4 separate regions of the Homo sapiens genome follow, and all the other regions are linked to region 1. The links are contacts of gene promoters, found by promoter capture Hi-C in blood cells and fetal thymus (Javierre and others, 2016). All regions are on one chromosome and are shown on one strand. Each heading gives the region's core, a stretch centred on a gene start or on the middle of the fragment in contact. The rest is flanking DNA. Distances are from core to core; before and after follow the strand shown. Region 1 holds the start of ETAA1 (ETAA1 activator of ATR kinase). Region 2 holds the start of FBXO48 (F-box protein 48). Region 3 has its middle 12 kb from the start of LINC03050. Region 4 has its middle 59 kb from the start of LINC03050.

Region 1 (7,002 bases), core at 1,346-3,845:
AAAAATGATGTCGTATGTTGTTAAGCACAACATTACAGATAAACACAATGCCCTAGTCAAAAATTACTCTAAAAAATTAAAACAAGATATATACTTAAGAAAATATCTTGTATTTTATATTATATTCCTTTTTTCAAAATATGTATTTCAAAAGTAGAAAAGGCAAAACAGTAATCTTTGCTGCCTTATTTTTGGAAAAAAGAATTATAATAGACAATACTTTTCATTTAAAGAAACTACAAAAACTTAGTGGCACATTCTTCACTGTTTTAAAACAAACTGTAAAACTAGTGATATTTACCTGAGGAGCAATACGATTAACAATATGTGAAATCTCATCACTATCTGTGGTGTAAATCTGTTTTTTTCTTCCTTTACCTAAAGAAACAAAGACATTTCTATAAATTTTAAACAAAAAACCCTCCATTTTAAAAAACAGCTGTCACTTCTTAGAAAGTAATTTTATTTAGTGCAGCTTAGAGGATTATGTGTTTACATCACATACTTATACAGATAAAATCATATAACATTCTCAGAGGTTCCCGATGCTATTATCTGACTAGAATTCTAGTTAAATCTGAATCATTTATCAAATATTTACTCACATAAAAAATGTTAATAATTAATTACCTAACTGCTTTGTCAATGGAGAATTCTGATCCCAAAAGATATCATTCTGTCCATCTGGATCATTAGGAGAACTGAAGGAAGATGACAGTGAGTCCATTTTCAGCGCTCTCTTTGGTGTTTCATACCTTTCTATATAAAATATGAGTAAAATAACAATTGTTGCATTTTAAAGCATTACCTTACTTCGTAAGACCCCAAGGTCAAATAGCTGAGACTAACTTTTATAGTCCAAGATAATTTTTTTTCCCAGAGATAATTACCTGAACCGTAACAGAAATGCTTGTTTCACATAAAAATCCACGCGGCACTTCGCAAACTTCACATTGTAAATAGCAAACACTTCTAGATAATCCAGAAGCTTTATGAATGCATAATACAATACTGTATAACCTAAGTCATTCTATTTATTACCATTGAGTCTTGGAGGCTTTGGGGAACCATCTGTAATTTATAGGTACATTCAAAAATCCAAAGTAACCCAACAGAAACCTAAATATGTTTAGCCCCCTTTCACCAACTCTATCTAATCTACATTAATTGCCATTCTTCAAAAACCATTAGTGATCCAATGCTTGGGAATTTTTGTCTAGAATCACTTTCAAATTTTTATAAAGATTTTTGTTCATTCCCAAATTGCTTTATAGGAGTATTATTAAAGACATGTAAGGTGGCCGGGCGCGGTGGCTGTAATCCCAGCACTTTGGGAGGCCGAGGCGGGTGGATCACGAGGTCAGGAAATCGAGACCATCCTGGCTAACACGGTGAAACCCCTGTCTCTACCAAAAATACAAAAAATTAGCCGGGCGAGGTGGCACACGCCTGTAGTCCCAGCTACTTGGGAGGCTGAGGCAGGAGAATCGCTTGAACCCGGGAGGCGGAGGTTGCAGTGAGCCGAGATTGTGCTACTGCACTGCAGCCTGGGCGACAGGGCGAGATTCTTTCCCAAAAGAAAAAAGACACGTAAGGTATAAAAAAAAAAAAAAAAAAAAAAGCACTATTTCAAGAACATGCTCCAGAATAAAGGCTTTTGTATGAGTTTCAGTTCCAACTAAGATTTACTAGAAGTCTTTTAAAAAGTAACACCTAAAACTAATCGAGACGAAAGAGATCCTTAGTATCTTATTTGGAGGGATGTTACACACAGGAACTTCCGGTTTATTCACAATGAGGTGAGACATCTACCAGGCTTTGAGACAAACTTTAACTTTTCCTATGAACTCTTCTCTAAAGCAGGTCACAGGGAAAAAAAGGGTTTAAAGAGAAATAACTTCTCCGGGCAAAAACTGAGGTTAGCGGGCCTATCAGCTGTTTCTTCTCACTCCACCACTGCTGCTGACTGGAGGAGCAGCCTGGAAAGCAGCCGCCCTCCCGCAAACAGGTAAACCACATTACCTATTCCTGTGGCGGAGGCAAATGGATGGTCAAACCTAACGGGGTAGTGCTGAAGTTCGGGGACAAAAGCCCATCGGGGAGTGGTATAGGATTATTTTTGGACTCTCGAGGGGTGAATCCCAGAGACAGAATACACGCTCCAGACTCCACCCCCACCCCAGATTTCCCTGTTGCAAGCTGGGATGTGGGGATGCGGCGCCGAAGCCAAGGCAGGCCGCGCTGCCGACGTCTCACCCTCGGGGTTACTTTTACTGCACAGGGCGGCGGTCGGAGGCTGCTCTCGCTGCCGCACTGGCCCGGGAGGCCCCTCTCTAGCCCCGCAGGGCCACGAACCGCGGGCCGATCTCAGCCGCCTCCTCCCTGGCTCGACCACCGAGCCGCATTCCTCCGCCGCCACTGTTTTGTGCGGCGTTTTCTTCGGGCTAGGGCTGTCATCATGTTTCCTTCGCCGACTCATTGCCTATGGCCCGCCTCCACCAGCCGCTTCTTCTTTCACATTTTGCAAAGGGATGAGTAGGGCAACAGCACTACAAACCGCACCCCGCACCAACGGCAGCCGCCATTTTGGTCGGTGGGGCGCGCGCAAGAGGCGGCCGCTGATTGGCTGGGTCCGGGAGAGGGGCGGAACTGTTAAGGTGCCGAGGGCGCGCGCACTTCCGCAGCCGGGACAGGAGCCTGCTCTGGAGGAGTGTCTAGGCTCAAAATCCTCCAGACTGGTGGGGGTTGTTCGGGTAGTAGTCAGGTCCGCGTAAACTGAGAGTGGGAGCTTGTGAGTTGGAAAGATTGAATACACTAGCAACTTTTTATTGAATTTACAACGAAAATTGCACGTTAGTCAAATTCAGATTATTGAGAGTCTTCGAATTTCTCAAGAAGAGGAAATACAGTTAATTTTTCATAGATGCTATGTGCATAGAAAAATCCAAAAGAAAGTAGAAAAAATTACTAAATTAATTTAAGAGTTGCTGGATACAAAGTCAATATTCAAAGATCAATGTGTTTCAATAGATTAGCAACAGATATAAAATTGAAGTTTTAAAGAGATACTATTTATAATAGTGCATGAGATAGCAAGTAACTAGGAATAAGTTAAAGATTGTCCTTCCTACAAAGAGAACTATAAAACATTTTTGAGGCCGGGCGCCATGGCTCAAGCCTGTAATCTCAGCACTTTGGGAGGCCGAGGCAGGCGGATCACGAGGTCAGGAGTTCAAGACCAGCCTGACCAGCATGGTGAAACCCCGTCTCTACTAAAAATACAAAAAATTAGCCGGGCATGGTGGTGCGTGCCTGTAGTCCCGGCTACTGGGGAGGCCAAGGCAGGAGAATTGCTTGAACCTGGGAGGCGGAGGTTGCAATGAGCCGAGATTGCGCCACTGCACTTGCAGTGAGCAGAGATCGCGCATCTGCATTCCAGCCTGGGCGACAGAGGGGGACTTCGTGTAAAATAAGTAAATACATACATACATACATACATACAAAAATTAGCCAGGCGTGGTGGCGGGTGCCTGTAATCCCAGCTACTTGGGAGCTGAGGCAGAGAATTGCTTGAACCTGGGAGGTGGAGGTTGCAGTGAGCCGAGATTGCGCCACTGCACTCCAGCCTGGGCAACAGAGCAAGACTCCGTCTCAAAAAAAAAAAAAATTTTTTTTTTGAAAGAAAACGAAGACCTAAATAAATGGTTACACTATGTTCATGGGTTGTGAGACTCAATATTGTTACAATGTCAGCTATTTCCAAACTGACCTATAGATTCAACATAAATACATATGAAGGCCCAGTGTGTGACTGTGTGTGTGTAACATGGTAAGTTTTTTCTAAAATTTATATGAAAATGCAAGGGACCAAAAATATCAATAAACTCTTGAAGATCTCTCGAAGAATAATGAGGGTTGATATCTACCAGGTATCAAGACTTATATGGTAATTAAGACAGTGTTATGATGGTGTCAGGATAGACAAAGATGAAAGAAACAGGATAGCACAGAAACAGACTTCCATATAAATGAACACGATTTAAGACAAAGGTGACCCTTCTGAGCAATGGTAAAAGGACTTTTGAAATTAAATAGTGCTTGGTCTATTTGATGTTCATGTAGAAAAAGAAAGAAACATGACCTTTACCTCAAACTTTATCCCCAAATCAGGTGCATATATATTCATTATAAATTTAATTGTAGAAGATAAAATAACATTTTAGAAGGTATAAATTGTCTTCATGACAGAACGCATTTGAAATAAAACAAAGGTCACCAGGCATAATTATAAATGTGACTACACAAAATTGATAATTTGAGAACTTCTGTCCATTCAAAAACAACATTAAAGAGAAGGAAGGGCAAGGCACAAATTGGGAGAAAATATTTATAAGACATATTTAAGGGCCTATATATAGGTTATATGAAGAACTGATACAAATCACTAAGGAAATGATTGACTGTCAAAACCAAAAGTGGATGAGACCCTTGAGCAGGATCTTCACAAGAGAAAATATTATCAACAAACTTATGGAAAAATCAGATTCATTTTTAATCAGGAAAATGCAAATGAAAACCATATCAGAATGGCTAAAGTTAAAAAGACTGACAATATAGGTATTGAGGCAGTAAACCAATGGAAGCTGTCACGTACTGCTGGTGAGAGTATAATTTGGCACAACCACTTTGGAAACCAGTTTTTGATCTAGCAATCCCACTCTGAGGAATATTCTCTGTTTAAATGCATGGACTTGTTCATCAAGATACAGTTTATAAAAATGCTTTGGTGGGATGCAGTGGCTTATGCCTGTAATCCTAGCACTTTGAGAAGCCGAGGCAGGTGGACTGCTTGAGCCCAGGAGTTTGAGACCAGCCTGGGCAACATGGCGAAAACCCATCTCTACAAAAAATACAAAAAATTAGCTGGGCATTTTGGCGCATGGCTGTAGTCCCAGCTACTAGGAAGGAGAATCACTTGAGCCCAGAAGTTGACTTGCTGTGAGTCATGATTGTGCCACTGCATTCCAGCCTGGGCAACAGAAAAAAAAAAGAAAAAACAAAGAAGAAGAAAAATGCTTTTAGCAGTAAAATTCAATTCAAAATTACTTCATACTGTAAGTGGACCAAATGCTTTCCAACAGTAGAATGATAAATATATTGAACTATATTCACACAACAAAATAGCAATGAAAATGAAAACTACAACTCTGTGCGACAACATGGATAAATCTGACAAACATAAAGTTGAGCAAAAAAAAGCTAGACCTCCCAACCCTCCTCCATAATGTTAAATAAATCCCATATAAATTCCATCAGGCAAAGTTCTACTATATTGTATAGGGATGTAAGCTTTAGTGTTAAAATGATAAAGAAAAATCTAGGAATGATTACCATAAAGGTCAGGATAATAGTTACCTTCGGGAGGGGGAAGGGACAGTGATTAGAAGTGGACAGAGGGAGGAGAGAATTTCATGTATTTATTGGCTTTGTTTATTTTCATGTTCTAGTTGTTAATTACAAAAGTATTTGCTTTGTGGTAATCTACTGAGCTGTACATTTTGTTCATTTTCTACACACATGTTATATTTATCAATTAAAATGTTTAAAATGTTAATGTAAGGCAAAGATCTTAGTTCCTACTGAGGAGCTGATATATTTCTTCTATCTTGTAAACTATTCTGTTTTTACTCTTTAATTTTGCTGACAGAAATCCTAGAACTAAATTTGAGATTCAGGGCTAGCAGTTATATAAACCATATAAACCGTTGTGAATAGATAATTCCATTATTTTTCCTCAGTGTTTGACCTTCTACTAATACTTTTTCTTTCCATGATTGTTTTTTACCTACATGTATTTAAACCATTGTTTAGTTTTATTTATTTATAACCGGATAAGACTGGAATACAAGTGATATTACATCTTTTAAAATTCAAATTAATTACTTGAACCTTCACTTGTATAAATTAGCAGGAATATTACTATTTCTCTCAGAGATCTCTCCTACCTCTCAAATGACCAAAAATCCTAGAAGCATTAAAAAAAATGTAAAAAGAACTTAATTTACCAAATAAATATCCAACTCACATTTAGAAAGTAATTAAGGAAGTTTAAAGAATTTAGTGATGTTTATAAGAGAAATAACCATGTAGTAATCCTTTAAAGCATATTAATGCTGCAAATAAAATAACAGTGAATACTTTACCATAACTCCAAATTCTATAGTGCCCAAGTAACCATTGCTGAAATGAACAACTTGAGCCTAAAGTACAGACGTGTTGTCTTAACACACCTAGGATGGCTGTAACCTGTAATCATTATGGGGTAGGAAATTATAGTAAATTTTAACTTGAAAATTACTTACTTTACATAATCTGTTACATTTCTAAGTGTACTTCAAATTAAATTTACTTCCTGACTATAGCTCCTGAAATAAGTATAACACAATTAACTCCTTAATAAAATGTTTTTAATGTGAAACAAAAGTCTTACAGATGTTTGAATGCAATATGATTCATAGCTCAGCATTTCTAGGCATTTGAATAATTTATACATATAAGTAAGGTTTACTGCAACTAAAAACTGTAATAAACCAAAGTGAAACTCTTGCTTGTTTCACTTACAGGGATTATTTATAAACTTGACAATAATTATTAAGGCAAAAATTGTGACACTGAAGGTCTGAGTTACTAAGGAGCTTCTCTGCCAGTGATTGCCTCCTCACTTACATTACAACGATGGGTCAATGCTACTGATCAATGGCTAACTGTGAGCAGTCTTCCTTTCAAGAAAAAAAAATCCATAATTATGTGAATTATGTTTGTGTTTTATATACAGAGCTCCAGCTCCAAATCTGTGAGAGTGCATTTGGCAGAATCTGAACAAGCAACACAATGATTAGAGGGTTTTTGTTTTTTTGTTTGTTTTTAACAGTTTTGTTACAATGTTTCCACCCCAAAATGTACCTGGGTAAGTGCTGGGCCCATTTTTCCTTATTCCTGACA
Region 2 (6,568 bases), core at 3,083-5,582, 1.1 Mb before region 1:
TTGTGGCCTTCCCAACACTGAGGCAGAACTGTTGTCATTTATCACTGTCCCTGTGTTGTTTTTCTTCTTCCCTCCCACTTCGCTTACTCCAAGTGTCAGCCTGGCGCCAGTCCCCATGTGAGGTTGTAGCCTTATTTAGTTACTAATACTTGTTTATTTGTCTCTTAACCCTACAAAACTATAAGTTTCTTGAGAGCAAAGACTTGTTTCTCATTCACCTTTATTTCTCCTATACTCCCTCCCATCCAACCATAGTATATATTTATCAGCTATTTCCTGAATTTAGCGAATTATCAATCAACAAAACAGGAAAAATGTTAAAACTTAATTCATTATGAATGCTACTCAAGATTTAGCAGTTGGTAGGACTGCATCTTTACTATATTTAAATTCACTTCAAAACTCAATGATAACCCTTTTTCATATCTAAGTCACAATTAGGCTCTTTTTGAGGGTAGAGTGAATGAGAGGCTGAGATGCCGAAATGGAAGGAAGAAATCACGTGTTAAAGGCCTACTGTGTGCTAGGCACTGGTTGTAGGCTAAATAATAAAATGAGGGAAGGGCAAATCTAGAAATAAAAGAAACGTAAGGGAAGAAACCTATGTTGGAGCAGGTAGGAACAGCATTCCAGGACAGCCAGGATTCTGCAACAAGCAGTTAAAAGTATAGAGCTGCCAGGTCAGGGGATGGTTACTTTGTGTAAACTTTGTAGAACATTTACAACATTCTTAGAAGTGGTGAACTGATGCCACCTGAAGAGTCTATACTGAAGCCTATGACCTTCCCTGTTCCCCCAACTGAGGACTCTTCTCCTTTTAATCAAAGCAGTCAATTTAATTACATCTACATTGAGAAAGTATCACTAGATATCTTTTGCTATCTTGTTTCCTAGGAGGAAAATAGATCATAAAGAAATGTGTCATATAATCCCTGCTGTCAAAACAAAATAAGAAAAATCTGAAATCAGAAATAGTAGATTTCATTTAAGAGTGTAACAGCTTTAATTAAAACCCATAAAGCAAATACTTTGGCCTAACAGTGCTTGACATGTCGTACTGTAAAACCCTTTTAAATTAAATTTCTTAAGATAATGGTAGATTCACATGTAGTTGAAAGATATAATATAGAAATATCTCTTGTACCATTTATCCAGTTTCCCCTAATGGTAACGTCTTACAAAACTATAGTACAATATATCAACCTAAGATATTGATACTGACACAGTCCAGACAAAGCACATTTCTATCACCACAAATATCCCTCATGTTGCTATTTTATAGCCATATCCATTCCCTTCTGCCCTGCTGCCTAATTTTTTAACCTTTGGCAACCACTAATCTGTTCTCCATTTTTGAAATTTTGCAATTTCGCAATTTCAATGATGTTATATAAATGGAATCACACAATATGTAATCTTTTGGATTGGCTGTTTTAACTCAAGTTCTCTGAAGATTAATCCTGCTGTAAAACCTTCTAACTGATGCCAATCATGGAGCAGAATCAAAATCTAGTAAACAAAGACCTGGGGTTCTCTGATGACTCACATGAAAGCAAAGGGAACAAGAAAGATTAAATTTCATTGTCCTTTGTTCTCTGTGACAGGTTTCTCTGTTGTGTTTTCCTACCACCATAAAAATACAAAACCATTCTCATTGTCAAACTGTTTTACTACCAAGACTATTTTACACAGTCAGATTATAAACTTTTATGTTTGTGTGGCCATCAAGGTTTGTGAAGCTTGTCTCAGAAAAACATGCCCAATTAAGAAAGTTCAAAATCATCCTTATTTATATTAATCGTTTCCGATTCCAATTTACAATGAACTTACTGAGTTTTCCACTTAGAACTCAGTCTTCGCTCTCTCACAATACAAAAATAAATCTCACTGGAATTGCTGTTGTTGGAAACAGGAGCCCTTATGTTGTGTTTTAACCAGTGCAGAGAAGAATCGAGTGCATCTGTCAGCTCCAAAATCGAAAAAACTACAAGGCGATTTGTTTGTTCTCCAAATTTTTCCTTTAACACACTTAGGATGTCATTCATAACCACTTCTGATACACGCCAACCTTGGCAAAAGAATCTCATCCCTGAATGTTATTTCAAAAGGAAAAGCAAAATCTTGACCAGGTAATTGCCCAGCTTTCACTCCTTACCATTTTTAAAAACAGATACCAAATAGGCTCATCTCACATTAGCAAGTCGACAACACAAAGAACAAGCTACAAATAATGAAACGGTCTGCAATCTGTTGCCATGTTTCTAAACCACGGCCCTAAAATTCATCCACCTTTTAACCAGACCCACAGTACTCTACTGGTGACAATTTCTTAAGCAAGTCAAAACTCGTTAGTCACCAGACATATGATTACTAGATTAAGCACATACTCTTAAGTTTCAAACCTACGAATTTAAAAGAAAAATAAAGCCTCCAGACAGTTCCTTCCAGTGTTTGTATAGGCCAACAAACGATGAAAAAAATAGAAATGATGTTAAATATTTAAATAATCACTTGTCCAGTAAAAAAATGAACAGCAATTGAATATCTACTTCCTCAATAACCTTACCACATGCACATGTGCATGTACACAACACACAACACACAACACACACACACACACACACACACACACACACCCCTTTAGGACCAGCTTCCATAATACAATCTTAAACTACCACTCCTTTCCCTGCTCCCAGAAGGGACCTAAGGCAAGTACCAATGGTTCCATTTAGACTCTGGAAGTTAACCAGGACAACAGTACACACTCCTTACTCCTTGGTGTTAGCTCACTGACACAGGTGTCTCCCCGGTCCCAAGAGAAAACTCCTAAAGGGTAGGGACCCATGTTCCATTCATCTTTGTATGCCCCACAGTGCTAGAATCTGCAAAATGTTCTACACAGTGAGCACCAAACAAGAAATGTTGAATGTTAAAGAACAAAATAGAAAACTAGATGTACTTAAGAGATCTATAGAATTCCAGAATGCAATATGCAAATGTTCTTATTCCTAAACCTCTCCCAAAGAAGGTAGAGAATATTTAGCTTTGTGGCATTATGTGTCCAAAAGCTTATGTATGGACTTTAAATAATGTATGTATGGCTCAATTTTCTCATCTGAACAATGAGGATAATAAAAATAGCTAACTGATACGGTCTTGAGACAGTTAAAGATGTTGGTATAGGTAATGTCTCCTTAGACCAATGACACGAACGCTATACACATTACTTATGAAGGGTTAGCTACTCATTTTACTGGAAATAATAAATAATATAAATAAATAAGGTCCACACAGCTCTGCAAAGGAGACCAAAGGTTAAAAGAAATTAGCCTAGAAGACGTAATATCACAGTTTGGCAAACTTTTCTGTAAAGGACCAGACACTACTGTAAATATTTTAGGCTTTACAAGACAAGCCGCAATACCCTCAACCCTTGGAGCAACTATTCCCCCTGAAAAATTAGTAGATTTTTTGTTTACATTTTACATTTCAGAATTTAAGAATCATTCTTAGTTCATGGGGCCATACAAACATAGGCTGGATTTGGCCCCCAGGCACTAGTTTGCCAATCCCTGGATAAGATAATAATGGTAATACAGTCAGTGTTTTAAAAGCAACATAAAGAAATGTTTGTGAATTGGCTTAAAGGTAACTGAAAAACGTGCGGCCCCAAACTTCTAAAATCCGGACCGGCGGACCAGTGCGGTGGGGAAACCGGCCAGGACTAGGGCCGGTCTTCAGGAGCCGGCGCGGAACTCCACGGCTCTCGGGGTCCGCTAAGCCCCCGCCCACACTTACTCCCAGCAGCGGCCCGCGGCCGATCACCGTCTCCCCGGGCGCCAGGGCCACCCGGGGACCGCCGTCCCGCGGCTGCAGCTCGAAGCCCCCGGACATGGCGGGCAAGGATTAGGCCCCTTCGCCAGGAGACTGGCCCCTCCGCTGTTTCCGCCCTCCACAGACACGCGCGGGGCAAGCCCACGCCCTGGGAAAAAACACCGAGGGAGGGCCTCAAAGGCTCCCCGCGGCTGCGCCGGTCCTCTCAGAGCCCGGCCCCAGCGCAGCTTCACGAGTCCCGCCCCTCCACGCCTACTAATGACGCAACCGGGGATTCCCCAGTCTCGCCGCCTCAAAACTACTGTTTAAAAACCCCGGCTTATTCCCCAACACCCTTTTCACCTCCCTCCCATCTTGGAGGACGCCGGGCCTTGTAGTCCTGGTGGCTTTCTTCACTTCCTTTCCCGAGCGGAGACGCCCTGGAAAAAACTACCAATCCCCAAAGGCACTGCGCGCCCCTCTCGGCGCCTGCGCGAGTTCTGAGCAGGGCGGGACTCAGGTGGGCGGGATGCGAAGAGCTATGGGGAAGGATTCGAATTCCGGTGGATTTAAATCGCGGGAGGAGAAGCTACCGCGGCCTAGTAGGTAGAAGGGTCTTCCGTTCCCGTTGGCTTAGGTGTCTACGCTCCCGGGGACGCGGCCTGGACGCAAGCTCAGCCTTCCCTCCGCGGCCTGGAGCCGCAGTGACAGTCAACGCTGACGGTTGTTGTCACTTGTCAGTGCCCTGTGTTCTTGGGTTCCAGCAGCTGCAACCCGCGCGGGACACAAGGAGGGTGGCTCAGACGGGACGTGGGGTGATTAGCCCTGACCCGCGGGATTTGGACGGAGTGGGGCTCCCCGCCCCTCCGACTGCGCTGCCGCCGATCTATCCCTCCGAATGATAGTTGAAAGGGGGACGAGCTTTTACTTCACTTGAGAGAGAATTCAGGAAAGCTCAGTTCATAAAGGAGAAAGGGCAGAAGAGGGGTCGTTTCCAGGCATCCAGGCGAACCTGGACGTAGAAGAAAGATTCCTAGTGGGATTTTAGAAACTCGCAAAGGTATCCCCTGCTGTGAAATTCAAAAGCCTTCATTCCCGTTACAGGAATTCCACAAGGGGACGCATTTTATTCTCCCAGTAAGATCCTGGGAGAAGTGGATAAACACACTGTAACGTTTAAATGCACTGTAACGTTTTCCTAATGTGAGATTCTTTTCAAGAACGTTGTGGTTTGGCTTTGGTTTGTATTGGTGGTGGGAGGGGCCAAGGTGCATGGCAAAAACTTGCTCTTGACTCACCCGTTTTTACGTTTGCTTTCTTACTTCTCCTAACCCTCAAGAAGAAGACCTCTGTTGAACACAGACTGCAGTTCCAGCCACCACAGCTAATCTGGATCATGAATGGGAGCCACCGTGGTCTTGGCAAGTCCGAAAACATAGCTGAGTAGCTCGTCTAGAAAAGAGATTTGTGTTCAGCTGAGTTAAAAGAAGTATTTACCTCAAACCTCTCCTCTTGCACAACCAACCCCCGTTATAAAAGGAAGTGCAAAATGGAATAAACTGATTTTAAGTGAATACAAGCTGTCTTTATATACAAAAGTAACTCAAGGATGGTGATGTACCCAGTCATGCTTTCAACTGATTTGGGAAGCCTACACCATTCACCTTAGGTAAATTAGCTGAAACTGAGCTTTAAATCTGGGCTTCAAAGAGTCACATACTGTACCTAGCTGAGTTCTAAACATTGTTTACAGTTGTCACTCACTGTTGCTTGATGTCTTCAGTGACTATTATCCTTAGCTTGTAATTATGCATGTAGGATAGCTTCAAGGGGCCATTTCTAAAACACTACTCTTATGACTGAGTTGAATATTTGAGACTTTGTTTCATAATCCAGATCTCATCTTCTTGTCCATTTCAGATAGTAGTTGTGTCAAATGTAAGCACCTACCTACCTATAAGATACAAGTAGATAAAATTCTTATATAAACAACTAGAAGTCCAGCAAGTTTATGATTAAGTCACAAATTGCAAATTAATGATGAGGCATCAGTTCCCATGTACAACAAGTATTCAGGAGTTTAATAGGATTGACTCATATACATTTTCAAAGGTACAAAAGTACCGGGTATGGTGGCTCATACCTGTCATCCCAGCACTCTGGGAGGCTGAGGCAGAAGGATTGCTTGAGGACAAGAGTTCAAGACCAGCCTGGACAACATAGCAAGAACCATTTCTCCGTAAAACAGTTTTTGGTTTTCTGTTTTTTTTTTTTTCTTTTTTTTTTTTTTAAAGAGGGGCGGGGTACGCTGAGTCAAGAGAATCGCTTGAGGCTGGAGTTTGAGGCTGCAGTGAGCTATTATGACACATCTGCACTCCAGCCTGGGTGAGAGTGAAACTAACATGTTGGGTGCCTCCCATGTGCAATTCAGATGTAGCAAGACTAGATATTTTACCCACTATCACTGTTAATCCTTGCAAGAACTTTCAGGAGAGCGGCAGCATTGGCCCATTTTACAGATTGAGAAGCTAAAGTCAAGAAAGAGTTCTTAAATTATACCCAAAAAGCATCTGACTTAAAGTAGGATTTATACTCCTATTTGGAGACTGAGCATGTTTAAATTTTGCCTTTTAGGTTACATATGAGGATAACTTAAAACATTAAGCTATGCATAAAAACTCCAAGAGAAACAATAATTTAAGAGTTTCTCACACAGAAGCGAACTCTGTGGATGCTGAGAAGGAAAAAAATGAGA
Region 3 (6,575 bases), core at 841-3,340, 1.8 Mb after region 1:
AAAAGCATGTAGCAAAGGAGAACATTTCTAAAAATCTATTCACAGATAGGCAGAGGCAGCCATCCAATGCTGTGTCCCACCCACCACTTAACTCATTCACACCAACTTAGCAAAGATACTATTAATACTAATACTCAAAATGCTGGTGAGACTTCAGCCAGACAAGTACTCTGACACTACCAGTAGGAGGGTCAATTATTTGAGCCTCTCTAAAAAGCCATCTCTCAATAGCTACCAAAAGCCTTTAAAATGCCTAGATCCTTTGATCCACTGGAAATGTATTCTAAGGAAATTGGCAAAACATGTTCAAAGAGCAAAGCATACTAATGCTCCCTGTCACATTGTTTAATGTAGAAAGAGATGGGAACTGATTCAGCAATAAGGGAAGAATCATGTAAATTATGGTAAATCCATAGGCAAAGTATTGTAAAGCCTTTAAAAGTTATGCTTACTGAGAAACACAAAATAAGATATGAATAAAATGAAATAAAAACTGTATTCTTGGGTAGGAAGTCTCAGTAGTGTAAAGATGGTAATTCTCTCCATCTTAGTCTATAAATTCAACATAATCCCAATCAAAATCTCAAAAACAGTTTTGTTTGTTTTGTTGGGAAAGTACAAATTTAACAAAATGATTCCACGGTCATCTGGGAAAATAGGCCATGTGAAAATAGCCAAGAAATGTGTTTTAAAAAGAAGATTAACAAGTATAGTCTAGACCTCACTGTTATAAAATATGTTAAAACTATAATAATTTAAACAATAAGGAACAAATGTAGGACTAGAAAGAGTAGAAGGTTCAAAGGAAGCCAAGTCATATATAAGAATTTAGTATATGATAAAGGTAGCACTTCAGATCACAAGAGAAAATATAGATTATTCAACAAATGGTGTAAGATAACTAGCTAAATGTTTGGGGAAAAGTTTATGCCAGTACCCTATATTACATTTTTGTTTAATTTAAACATGAAAATAACATGCTCTTATAACATGAAAATAATAACATTTTTTAAACCGGTAAAGGAAAGACAGGGGAATGGTCTAAATTATCTTGGAATAAATTAGACTCTTCTTAACATGAAATAAAATAATTGAGAAAAAAACTAACAAGCTTGAATACATAAACATTTTTAACTGCTGTAAAAACACCATAACAGTCAGAGAAAGACAAAAAAAAATTGTGGAACTACTTCTATCACATACAACAAATAATTTTCTTAATATCTAAAGACATAAAATGTATCAATTAGAAACTTATAAATAACATGATACAAAAATATACAAAGTATGTGAACTGCAGTTTATAGAATAAAAAATACGAGTGGCTAAATGTGTGAATAAATGCACAGACTCACTTATAATGAATGACATGTAAATTTAAAAACAGTGAGATTATTGTTTGTTTGGTTTTATGTGTGTGGTTTTTCATTTTTTGTCCCCATTATTGATAAGAGTATGGGAAACCAGAAAGACTATGCATAGCTGATGAGAATGTAAATGCATAAACATTTTTGGAGAGCAACTTGTCCATATCTTTTAATACTTTACATGTGAACCCTCCCTTTAGCCCAGAATTTCCATTTCGGGCATTCATCCTACATAAACACTTGTACACTAAAACATATGTGCAAAGATGCGCACAGAAATATATGCACAGAGATGCCTGATGCAGCATTGTTTATAAGAGGAAAAAAAAAAGGCCTGGGCATGTGGTTTATGCCTATAATCTCAACACATTGTGGGGCCAAGGAAGTATTGCTTAAGGCCAGGAGCTTGAAACCAGCCTGGGCAGAATAGTGAAGCCCTGTCTCTACAAATATATATAGATATATAGATTTTTTTTTTAATTAGCCAGGCATGAGCCTATAGTCCCAGCTGCTCAGGAGGCTGAGGCGGAAGGATCACTTGAGCCCAGGAAGTTGAGACTGCAGTGAGCTGTGAGTACACCATTGCTCTCCAGCCTGGGCAATAAAGTGAGAACCTGTCTCAAAAAATATATATAAAAAAGGGAAATCACTTAAATAGCTATCAATAGAAGTTTGGTTAAAGATGAGATTTTCCTAGAATGGAATACCTAGCAGTAGTTTAAAAGAATAAGGTGGATTTGTATGTAGTAACATAAAAGATGTCCAAGATATAATACGTGCAAAAATGTCGCAAAACTGTATGAATAATATGAACCCACGTTTTCTGTGCCTGTACATGCAAAACTAATGTCTGAATAGAAATATAAGAAATTGCTAAAAAGGAGTTACATCAACTGAGTGAAAAAAAGGAGAGAAGAGGAGAGAGGATATTTACTTTTCATATCTTCAACTTTTTTTTTTTTTACAATGGCATGCGTTACTGTTGAAATCACAAACTAATAAAAAATAGTTGAAGTTTTAAAATTAAAATTCAAGTATTTTAATATTTGCCAAGACTCTTTTAAAGATCCAGAGAAGTACTTATAATGTAGCATAAAAGGAAAATCCAGATCATGTAATTATAAAGTATGCTCTAAATTATTTTAAAATTTATATGTAAATATGTACATGTAATAAAATGCTGGCAGGAAACTTACCAAAATGTTCATGGTAATTAATTCTAGTACTAATGTTTTAACATCTTTTTTTATTTACTCATTTATATTTTTTCAAGTTTTCCAAAATTAATATATAATCAGAAAAATAATTTACTGAGCAATTCAGAATTTGCTTAGCAAATTATTATATGTCCTACACTAGACTAGGAATCAAGGGCAGAGAAAATGTGGGACATAACTGCTTTCCTCAAGCAATTTACAGTTTCACAGATGAATCTGTACCTATGGCTAAAACATTTGTACATATAGAATCCGTACATGTTGCGATCAACAGAGAACAACAATGAGCCAAGTGATAAGCTGAATCTTATCAAAGGTCAAAATGTATGAAAGAGACAGTGTGATTAATGGGACAACAGAAAGGGAAAAAGAAACACATGTCCCAATTATTAGCACCTCCGTAACCAGACAACCAGGGAAACAGCCTTGGGAAATAACATTAGAACTGTCTTCCAATGACAGAGTCAGAACTATACACAAGCTTGATTCTGGGCATTAAGAGGCTCACTTCCTCAAAACAATGCCTTTGCCACACACTGATATCTAAAATTTTACTTTAAAGATTTATCTCCTTTTTTCATACTCTCTATCACTCTTAAAAAGCAAATGGATCTCGAAGTGCCAACACTTGACACTGGATAGGACCCCTCCAGGCTTCTGGTGCCCATGACAGACATCACTAGTCAATCTCCGCACTTCCTTGTGAAAGAATCTCAGAATCTTTCTCAGCACAACACTGCAAGCAGCTACAACCCACTGAGCAAAGCTAGGATCTGAGTAGAACACTATTTGCCATCCCTTATTAAAGTGATTGTAATAATAAACTCACATTTGAATAGGAGCTGAGAATTTACAAAGCTCTGTCACATCCATTATCTCATTTGAGCTGGTGTTGTTTTCTTTATGCCAAAATTGAGGATTTAAGAGTATCTGCAAATTGTTCAATGGCCGCTCTTAAGAGGTAGGCCCCAGATTCTAATGGGAAACACAATCTTTGTTCCAAGTCCACTTCTCTTCCTTCTCTTCCTCTTAAACATCAGTCTAAAAGAGTTGAGCCTATGCTATTCTGAGAGCCAGTTTGGGGAGGGGAGAGCATGAGGATCTTAGGAAGCACTGGGTCTCGGGAAAGAGCATCCCTGAAAAATGCAGGACACCAGAACCCAGAGACTATGGGCACAGGACATCATAATTTTGCAAAAAGCTAGTTCTTTCCCCTGAAGAGAGCAGTAAATATATTCAGGTTCCCACCTACAACTGTTATCTCACTGGAGTTCAACCAAGAACCCCATTAAGTTCAAGAACAATTCCAACCATATGAAAATCTGACAGGTACTAAGATGCACAGATAAGTTTCCGTGCCTTGGGCTCTGCGGCCTCATTCTTGCCAGTTTCCCTACAGCCTGCTGTCTGTTCTCTAGGTTGGGGAAGACCAGAGCCAGCCTGATGGTCCTCCCAAGGTCTCCCCCAAGTTCCAAACACCCAGTGGAAAATGCACAATCTACCAAGTCATTTTCTCCTTTGGTGCTTCAAACGTGACTCTCAGATTCCCCTGGGCAGCTCCATGATCATCTGAAGCTCCTCTCATCCAGCTCCATTTGGAGGCACATGAAGGTTAACTTCCATAAGCAAGAGGTCTGCCTTGCACAGACCTTGTGTGCACACGCGTTTGTGTGTGTGTGTGTGTGTGTGTGTGTGTGTGTGTGTCCAGGGACACCCATGAACTCACCCTCCAATCCAATCCAATATTAAAAGTGCAACAGTCCTAAAAGGGTTTTTTAAACACCAGAATTAGATAGCGTGTTGAATTTGAGGTTAACATATGGATTTTTGACTTTAAAAGGCTAGATTTTCACAACAAACACACGTTGCTATAGAGACGGCATAAGCCTATGTAAACTTCAGGCATTCATATTCATAGAAACTCCTGAAGCAAGACCAAATGTTGGCCCCAACATTCCTGCTCTTGCCAACTTCCAAAGAGTGCACAAATTATGCCAAAAATAAATGGGTGTGACTAATATAAGCTTAGAACATTTTTCAAAAATTTACCTTAAGGGCAACATTTGTTGATCTAGGAGCTGGGTGTGTAAAGCCTACTTCCCCCTTCCATAAATCCATCTGTTTTATTTACACTTCCTAAAAGACCTGCATGCACATTTTTTCCATAAATTGTACAACTGCTAGTAATCACGTATCATCTCAATCTGCGCCCCAGTTCTATTTTAACACTATGTCTCTTCCTTTTTGTTTGTGTTCCATTAAGCACATACTAGAGGCAAAGCAGTCAAGACTTAACCCTTCCATTCCCAAATACACACTCCAGGGCTGCCGAATTGGCCACAAGCTTTTACATAGGCGACAATTCCCAGGTCTACAAGCCTGGGGTAAATCCTATTACAAAAGCTCAGAGATGTCAAATTGGTTTCTGCTACTGACCTTCTTTCTCGCGACCCCTGCCCCAACCCTCCAGGCCCCAATCCCAAATCCCTCATTTCTCCCACACCAAGGTCAACCTGTATGACGACTGAGCTCTGCCCTGAATTTGCTCTATCCTGTGGTGGATACTTGCTGCTAATTACTGTAGTCACACTTCTTAATTCAACAAGCGCCAGGCGGCTGCCCGCCATCTCCCCAGTGGGATGGGTCGCTAGCTATCTCACGCAGGTCACTAAGTCGGCATTTATTTCCTGATAGGAGATGGCGTTACAAGGTAGCTGTTCCAACATGAATGGTAATCAACAATAATTAAAAGTGATACACCTATTCTGACTCATATGATAGTGTTAAAAAAAAAAATCCAAAAAGGGTGGTGGAAGGAAGGGGGAGAAAGAAAGAGAAAATAAACTACTTAGCCAAAGCCAATAGGTTTTTCATTTCAACTTAGAATTTCTGGAAAATGCTTGCTTCTGTTTCCTTTTAATTCATGCAGAAGGAGTACTTCCACACTGCAACCACAGTGAAAAGCAGTGAATTGGGCTTTTCCATAAGGGAAAGAAAAGCCAAATGAATCCCTTTACCTTGGCACTGGGGAGAACAGCAGAGCAGGGGTCAGGCCACACTCAAAATCTCCCTGTCCTTGGAGGCCATCGTGACTATCTCATGGGTGATGCCAACTTCCAATCTTAGAAACTGAAAAGATCAACTGCAACCAACTCTCGAGCATCCAGAAGTGGTTTAGCCTGAGCTGCATAAATGACTGTGGCCCACTCAGATTCTCAGCCCCCATCTTAGTCCTCCTCTGGAGAACACAGGCAGCCCAGGCCCATGCTATTACTCACCAGGCCCTACTGGGTAAATGGGCACTCCAGTCATCCCATGGGCCTCTATGCAGGGATCCTGTGCACACAGGGCAGCTTTACTTCAGCTGTGATTAGGATTATCTACGATCTACACTCTCATGCCATCCCCCCACCTTCTGCCACCCCCATCTTAAAATGGGTCCCCCAGAATCAGATCTGGAGACTACAATTCACTTGTCAGTTATATATCAATAAAGTGCTCCCAGGAGAAAACGGAAAGGGGATGAGGGGAACAGAACAGAAATGGGGAAAAAGCCAAGCACAGGTGAGATTCCGGCCCAGCCTCTGCCAGATTCCAAAGCATAAATGGGCCCACATTGAAGCAAGGCCACTGACCTTTGTCACTCCCATATTCGGTTCTCCGCTACTGGCCGCCTCAGAGCGAATGTAAACCCCCAGGCACTTCTGGCTCTCTGTACCTTTCCCCAAGCAGCTCCAGGGGCCCATGGGCATCCTCCAAAGAAGGCCACTGGGGCCAGTGTGGAGGCAAAGGGAAGTGAGGCTGGATGATGGGCACTCAGAAGGAATCCCAGGAACACCGACCTGTCTATTGCACCCCCAGGGAAGAGAACACTGTAGTATTTTAACATTAATTTCATAAAACAATTCTTAATATTAAAATCTTAAAGAAGCAGGCATGAATGGGGGAGAGAAAAATAATCCCATCACCGATTGTACCTACTATGCAGGAA
Region 4 (7,021 bases), core at 708-3,207, 1.7 Mb after region 1:
AAGGTCTTCCAGAAGGCTAAAATCACCAACATTGCATTGCAGATTTAAGGAGTAGGCTTTGGTGTCTAGGAATGCTTGAAACCTACCCAGTTTAGTGAAGCTGATCCAGTTGATTAAGCCAGAACATACCCCTCCATCTCTGTCTCATTCCCACATCTCCTAACCTGAGGTAGAGGGCAGTCTCACTGTTCACACCATCACCACAACCACCATCCTCAGTCATGGGGAATCCCGCCCCACTAAAAAAGTCAAGGCACAATGACAGAATGCAGGAAAAAGCCAAGAACTTGCAAAACCACCAGCTGACCTCCAGGAACAGCTTTAGTCAGCCAACCCAAAAATGTCACATCCCAAAGTAGAGGCCTCCAGCATCAGGATTCCACCAGAGATGCTTCTCGAAATGTTCTTGATTCCCCCAAGCCCATGTTTATTGTACAACTCCATCAAACAGGCAGGGGCTGATTGCCTAATGCATCGTACGCCAAGACTCGACACTTGAGAAATCACCTTTTCCTGTGGGTGGATCCTGAAGCTTGGTATCAAGAGAGCCTCCTTTCCATAACCTACAAAGAAAAAGCAAATACTGTGAAGCACGTGCTAGTATGAGAATGGGCCTTCTCCATCACTACCTGTTGTCTTTTGTCTGATTCAAGGACTTTTTTTTAACCTAGAAATAAAATGCATTCCACCATGAGACCGAACCCAGAGAGAAGTCTGCTTAAACCACATTTGATGAAAAGAGGTTTTCAATCCCAATATATTTTTCTAGACTTTTTCCAGCAGAGAGAAGCCCCCACATGAAAGATAAGTTCAACCAGAGATGAAGTCCCTTGTTCATTCAGACACGAAAAGCTTCACCCTGTTGCCCTCCCCTGCAACATTATGTTGCAGGAAGGTCAGTTACCTTCCAGAGGGATCCATTTAAAAAGTTCTCCCCGATACTGGCAGTGCTGTTTGCAACGTCCATATTTTACCCTTTAGAAGCCCCACTTGCCATGCATTCTATCCTGGGTAGTTCCAACAGCACCAAGCCATGAGCCCCCATCTTCAGTTTTAATCAGGCATTAAACACTGGAACATTAGACAAGCGAAGCATTTGATGATGACGATAACGAGTGGCCCATTAAAGGTAATTTTTTTTAAGTTAATGAGTTCTCCCCAAAGAACAGAGCCACGTACTGTACTGAAAAATGTCTGTAGGACGTACTACGCTTTCTCGTTATTTATTTAACTTTATGTGGATGCCATAAAATTTCTTTATTTGCTTTCAGTTAGCCCATAGGTTTTGACAAGATAAATTTTTATTTAGGTCTTTGCCCAGCTACAATCAAAAACAGGAGACTCACTTTCCAAAGCCAGGCTGATAGATGGATTAATCAAAGTACTCCCCACCCTCCTTTCCTTCCAGCAACCACAGGGATCCACAGACGGAGTTTTTCCTTAATTAAAGAAACTCAGCAACAAGATGATTTATCGATGATGAATCTGGCAGGCCTTTTCATTGTGCGGTTAATTTTGGCCACTGTTTGAAATTTACCAACATAAATAAAGCCTCTCCATGACTAAACAAAGTTAAAGTAGCAATAAATTGAGCCTCCCATGTACTCTGGGCTAGATCTGAAGTCAACATAAATACCAGAATGCCTTGGCTGTGACACGCTTGATACGATGACATCATGCACTTCCAAACAGATACAGCCCAGCCCAAGCCAAAATGAAAACCTAATACAATTCCCCTAAATGAATCAAATTGCAGCGGTCTAGACTCGGCTGCACCAAGTATTCAACTTCCTTGTTCTCCGCTGTCAAGCAGTCGCATTAAAAAATAATCTATACGCTGTTCTAAATTTTGCTTTTTCTGCATGATTAAATTTTGGCAGGAGTAAATCTCTGTTATTCTCACTCCCCAGGAATGTTTGGAAAGTTACTAAAAATTCAGGATTTATCAGCTTAAGGTCCACCTGCTGTGACGGGATCCTGCAGCCAGCCTGCCGCTACCCTCAGCGGGACACAGGACACTGAGTGTTCATACAGGAAGAGGGTGAAACTCTGCTCACTTCACAGAATGGCTCAATGCTGGCTTCTCTCCCAAGGGACTTGCTCTGCCCACATCTAGCAACAGGCTGTCATGAAAGCCTTCATGAAACAAGAAAGTCAGCTAAACAGGGGCTCAACGCCCCCCAGCCCTGTTACTACTAAGAGATGAAAGGGGGAAGAAACCTTTCAGAACGCACATGCAGGACAGCGAATTAAAAATGGAGAAAATCTAATAACTAATTGGTGAAACCATAAAAGCTGCCATAAAAGACATTTTCCTTAAACTACTTTACACAGGGCTGTATAATTTTATGTCACTTTTTATTTATGTTGCCGTAATGAAAGCTGCTCTGGGAGCTGAGGAGCTTGGGAAGAAAGAAATTGAACTACTTTTAAAAAGGAGGGGAGAAGTCCAATTATAGGGCTTCGAACAAGATTCCTTTTGAAATATAGCTGGACTGGGGAGGAGAACCTATTTACTTCCAAAAGCCTCTGAGCAAAAATGTTTGCAATGAATAACTTTCTTCCACCACTATTTTCTCTACCCCGAAGGACTTAATTACTTAACATTCATAAAGTGGGTTTGATAGTATTTCACAAAACAAGGGCTGGGCACAGCGGCTCATGCCTGTAATCCCAGCACTTTGGGAGGCCAAGGCAGGCAGATCACTTGAGGTCAGGAATTTGAAACCAGCCTGGCCAACATGGCCAAACCCCATATCCATTAAAAATACAAAAATTAGCTGAGCGTGGTGGTGCACGCCTGTAGTCCCAGATACTCAGGAGGCTGAGGCAGAAGAATTGCTTAAACCCGGGAGGTGGAGCCTGCAGTGAGCCAAGATCGTGCCGCTCTACTCCAGCATGGGTGACAGAGTGAGACCTTGTCTCAAAAAAATAAAATAAATTAAATTAAATAAAGATAGTATTTCACAAAACTAGGATGTGAGCTAGGTAGACCAATGCTATTTAGACTCATCTGTGAAACCAGGCTTTTCTTGTGTCTAATAGATAAAGAAGCAAGCTTTGAGCACCTAGAGGGATTCTTATAAAAATGAACTCCATTTTGGCAAGATATTGATGAATTTACAAAGCTCCATAGGACATTACAATGCCATATTGAAGGATTCTAGATAGGTACTGTTTATTATGACCCAGCAGATCAGACAAGTTCTTTTCCCTTATTTGTATATGATGATTCAGGGAATGTTACACCATTGAGAAAAACAGAATAAGGTGCAATACAGAAAACCTTGAATAAATTATAAATAAGAGAAATTTAAAATAGTATATGTTCCCATAGAGAGGCATGAGGGGGCTTTTGGGGTGCTGATGATGTTCTATTTCTTAATCTGGGGCCAGTTGCTACAATGTATTGAGTTCATTAAAATTCACTGTATGCTTATTATATGTGCTGTCTTATCTATATGTACATTATATTTTAATAAAAAGCTTTTTAAAGTGGCATATGTTCAGATGAATCCCTTTAAAAAGCTGCAGAGTGAGTAACATGCATACAAAAACACAGAAGTGCTCTATGATTTTCCCAGAGAAAACATAGATCACCCGTTAAAATGCAGGGGCCCTCTGAACTCTGGCTAACTTTCAAAGCAAGATGAGGTTGTTTTTAGAAACAATTTCCCATCTATTAACAATGAAATCCAATTCAGCTTCGAATATTAGAAAGTGAAACATATATACAACTCCGAGGGACTGTTGAAGTATCAAACAGATAGGGCATTATTTAGGGAGGCTCAACAGTCAAGGCCACTTTACACCATTACGGACCAGACTAAACAAACCTGACCCGCAGGGTGACCCTCCCAGGATCCCAAAAGATTGGAAACTCCGAAAAGGCAGCCCTGACCAGACTTTACAGCCTGATAATGGCATGCAAACAACACTCCATCTCTGTCACGCAGCCAAAGGTTGGTGTTGTATATGAGAGCAATTTCCTCAAGAATTCAGAGAAAAATGTGATACTTTCCCTTTTATGTATGGGGCTCATAACAGCAAGTGTATTTACTCATCGGGGACACCCAAACCTCCTGATGAATGCCCCATCAAATCATTCAACCCAATCAGTGGGTGGTGGCAGGGATGTCAGATGCAGGAGGAGGGGAGAGCCCACTCGTGCAGATCAGGAAAAGCCTCATTTGCAGGATGTTTTAAATGCTGAAACCATGTACAGGGAAACACCATTGAGATTCACAGTCTTCCCTGGGAGGCAGGTTTCTCTCTCTCTCTCTCTCTCTCTGTGTGTGTGTGTGTGTGTGTGTGTGTCCCCCTCGCTGTCCTCAACACAGGCAATTCTTGCTGGTGTGGCTCCGAGCACCGAGGTCCAGCCTGCATTTGTCTTTTTCTTTTTCTTTTTTTTTTTTTGAGACGGAGTCTCGCTCTGTCGCCCAGGCTGGAGTGCAGTGGCGGGATCTCGGCTCACTGCAAGCTCCGCCTCCCGGGTTCACGCCATTCTCCTGCCTCAGCCTCCCAAGTAGCTGGGACCACAGGCGCCCGCCACTACGCCCGGCTAATTTTTTTTGTATTTTTAGTAGAGACGGGGTTTCACCGTTTTTAGCCGGGATGGTCTCGATCTCCTGACCTCGTGATCCGCCCGCCTCGGCCTCCCAAAGTGCTGGGATTACAGGCGTGAGCCACCGCGCCCGGCCTCCAGCCTGCATTTGTAATTCACTCTTGTTCACCTAGAAAATGTTGGCAGTGGGTGGCCCTGAGTCCAGCTTCATCAGGGTCCTGTTTTCACATGTTCCTCTGTCTTGTGGGGAGCTAGTTCCCCCACACAGCCCTCAACAAGCACTTGGCTGGGAAAAAAAATGTGTTTGCGGGAGGGAGGCAGGGAGGCTGCAGAGGGGGTGGGTGGTGAGGTGGGGAGGGAAACAAGGCAGGGGAAGAAAAGGAAAATACAGAAAAAACAGAAGCTATGATCATATGCTCTGATGAGGAGGATAAACTTTGGGGACAACTTCAAATTCAAGGATCACCATGATTTATCCAGAAACTCACTTTCCTCACTTTTTTCTCCCACAGAACAGATCTGGAGCCTGGATCCTCATTACATGTCTATAACTGCTCCTCAGAGCCCTCTCGAACCTGTAGGGAAGGGAGCGTATCCCAGTCTCCAGACTTCCAGAACATCTTCTCTGACCTATTCAAACGCAGATCCCTTTCAGGACCATCAATAACATATCCCAGGCCATCAGTCCTCTCAAGAGCAAACTGTGTCTGGGGATCACAAGAAAGGGACATCAACCCCATACTGGGTATTTAAAGGCCACTCGCAACCTCTTTTAGAAATCCTCTTTACCCCTCTATGATAGAACACAGCATTTGGCTTTGAGCCATCATATTTTTCAGATGACTGCTGGCCCCATAAAAGTTCAAACAAGACATTCCTTCCAGTGTGGACCACAGCACATTGCTGTCATTCCACAGGACAAGCCCTCATTTTCAGGTGGATCACAAGCTCCGTGCTGGAGGTGGCAAATGCATATCATGTGTGTTGGGGAGCATGAACATCTTGACTTTTTCCCTCCTTAAAACAATGATCCTGCTTTCAAAAGATAAAAAGAAAGTCAGTGTGGCTACCGGATGAAGTGTAGACCTAGCCTGGCAGTGAAGAGGAAGCAGCCATCAGAAACGCCTGCAGAACAGTGGTATCCTCCCTGCCCTGGACAGAGAGGAGAGAGCACTGGCTCAAAGTAGCCCAGGCATTAAACACACAACCTAGGCTCAAGATGACCAAGGCCTCCCATGGGGAAAAGCCATCAGGGAGCTGGGAGCTTCATTCACCTCCCAAAATGGAGAGCAAGTTCCTTCTTCCTAAGCACCAACAGGCTTGAGCAGTTCCCTGCACCAGTTTCTGTATCCATCCCACCAGAAACCAGACACGAGGCAGGGAGGCCCAACCACCGGCCCAGGGGCCCTATATCCTGCTGCCGCAGCCATCTCCCCTTTCATCCCTGTGAGAGTCACCTCCCAGGTGACCCCTGGCCCCACTCAAGTTTAAACAAGGCAAGGTGTTGCTTTCAGCCCATACCCACAGCACATTTCAGTCCTCCCATTCAAGGGGCCTCAGCCTCCACCCCCCACCTTCCTCTGCCCTTTAATCCCCTCCTGGGGAATTCAGTTATGCATGTAGCTTGAAATGGGGACCACAGGCTGGGCCTCTACAAGCTGCTAATTGAAAACCTTGTCAGAAGTGGGAGGAAGAGGCAGAGGGGGAAAAACAACAACCCTTGACAGGACCCCACTCTCATATTATGAACAGCAGCATGCCCTCCCAGAAGGGCTGCCCTTGCTCCACCTCGGCTGTGTGGGAGGCCTTCCTCCCGGCCTTGAGGACTGAGTCTCTGGGAAATGCTGCCTACCACATCAGAAAGGATGCAGCCAAGGGGTCCTCCAGCCCCTGCCTGACCCTGGGGCTGCCTTGCTCTCTGAGCATGCTGTTCCTGCTGCTTCTGGGGACAGGCTGCCTGGGTCAAGGCCTGGCTCCACTACTCTCAGCTGTGTGATCGTGGGCAAGCGATTCAACCTTTCTGAGCCTCAGTTTCTTCCCCTGTGAAATGTGGATGAGAATTGTACCTATTTCAGAGGGTCATTGTGAGGATTAAATGTGATTTTACATATAAACACTTCATACAGTGCCTGATACAGTATTCATAACTTTTAATATTTTGCTCTTGTTTATAACAATGAGAATTCTTGATCTTGCCAAATTGGAGAACAGCCGAGGATAGGGGAGAAGAAGCTGAGGTTGTCATTCTATTCCCATTTCATAAGTAAATCTGGTACCAGATTTACTTGGTACCATAACTAAATCTGGAAGCCTTTAAATGAAAACAGACAGGGATGCATGCTTGTGTGAAGGTGGGGAGAGGAGGGTGGTAAGACTTCAGTGGAGGGAAGATACAAAGAGAATAGGGAAGGAAAGCAATGAAGCCAAAGTTTTTCAATCACCTATTGTATAACAGGC

Evidence for each region. The method cuts DNA at HindIII sites, captures the fragments that hold promoters and counts their contacts. A CHiCAGO score of 5 or more calls a contact.
Region 2: a contact is called between the fragment with the promoter of FBXO48 here and the fragment with the promoter of ETAA1 in region 1, in 1 of 17 cell types (fetal thymus). The highest score is 5.8, in fetal thymus.
Region 3: a fragment that was not itself captured here is called in contact with the fragment with the promoter of ETAA1 in region 1 in 1 of 17 cell types (M1 macrophages); the score reaches 5.2 in M1 macrophages.
Region 4: a contact is called between a fragment that was not itself captured here and the fragment with the promoter of ETAA1 in region 1, in 1 of 17 cell types (M0 macrophages). The highest score is 5.2, in M0 macrophages.

The regions. Positions count from the first base shown.
Region 1 is chr2:67,392,926-67,399,927 of GRCh38, reverse strand. ETAA1 (ETAA1 activator of ATR kinase) reads right to left here and starts at 2,595. Exons shown (of 6, transcript NM_019002.4): 1 at 2,257-2,595; 2 at 631-759; 3 at 302-378. The coding sequence starts at 2,479. The HindIII fragment of the contact is 4,361 bases long and covers 991-5,351 here.
Region 2 is chr2:68,465,058-68,471,625 of GRCh38, reverse strand. It overlaps FBXO48 (F-box protein 48), which reads left to right and starts at 4,332. Exons shown (of 4, transcript NM_001024680.3): 1 at 4,332-4,415; 2 at 5,156-5,482; 3 at 6,448-6,568. The coding sequence starts at 6,481. APLF (aprataxin and PNKP like factor) reads right to left here and starts at 4,041. Exons shown (of 10, transcript NM_173545.3): 1 at 3,799-4,041. The coding sequence starts at 3,894. RefSeq lists a silencer at 3,757-3,966 and enhancers at 3,308-4,202, 4,203-5,098, 5,192-5,251. The HindIII fragment of the contact is 4,492 bases long and covers 3,071-6,568 here.
Region 3 is chr2:65,610,860-65,617,434 of GRCh38, reverse strand. No RefSeq gene overlaps it. Among named protein-coding and RNA genes, the nearest start is that of LINC03050, 12 kb to the right of the region's middle. The HindIII fragment of the contact is 1,954 bases long and covers 1,114-3,067 here.
Region 4 is chr2:65,657,488-65,664,508 of GRCh38, reverse strand. No RefSeq gene overlaps it. Among named protein-coding and RNA genes, the nearest start is that of LINC03050, 59 kb to the right of the region's middle. RefSeq lists enhancers at 880-2,079, 5,942-6,442. The HindIII fragment of the contact is 2,206 bases long and covers 855-3,060 here.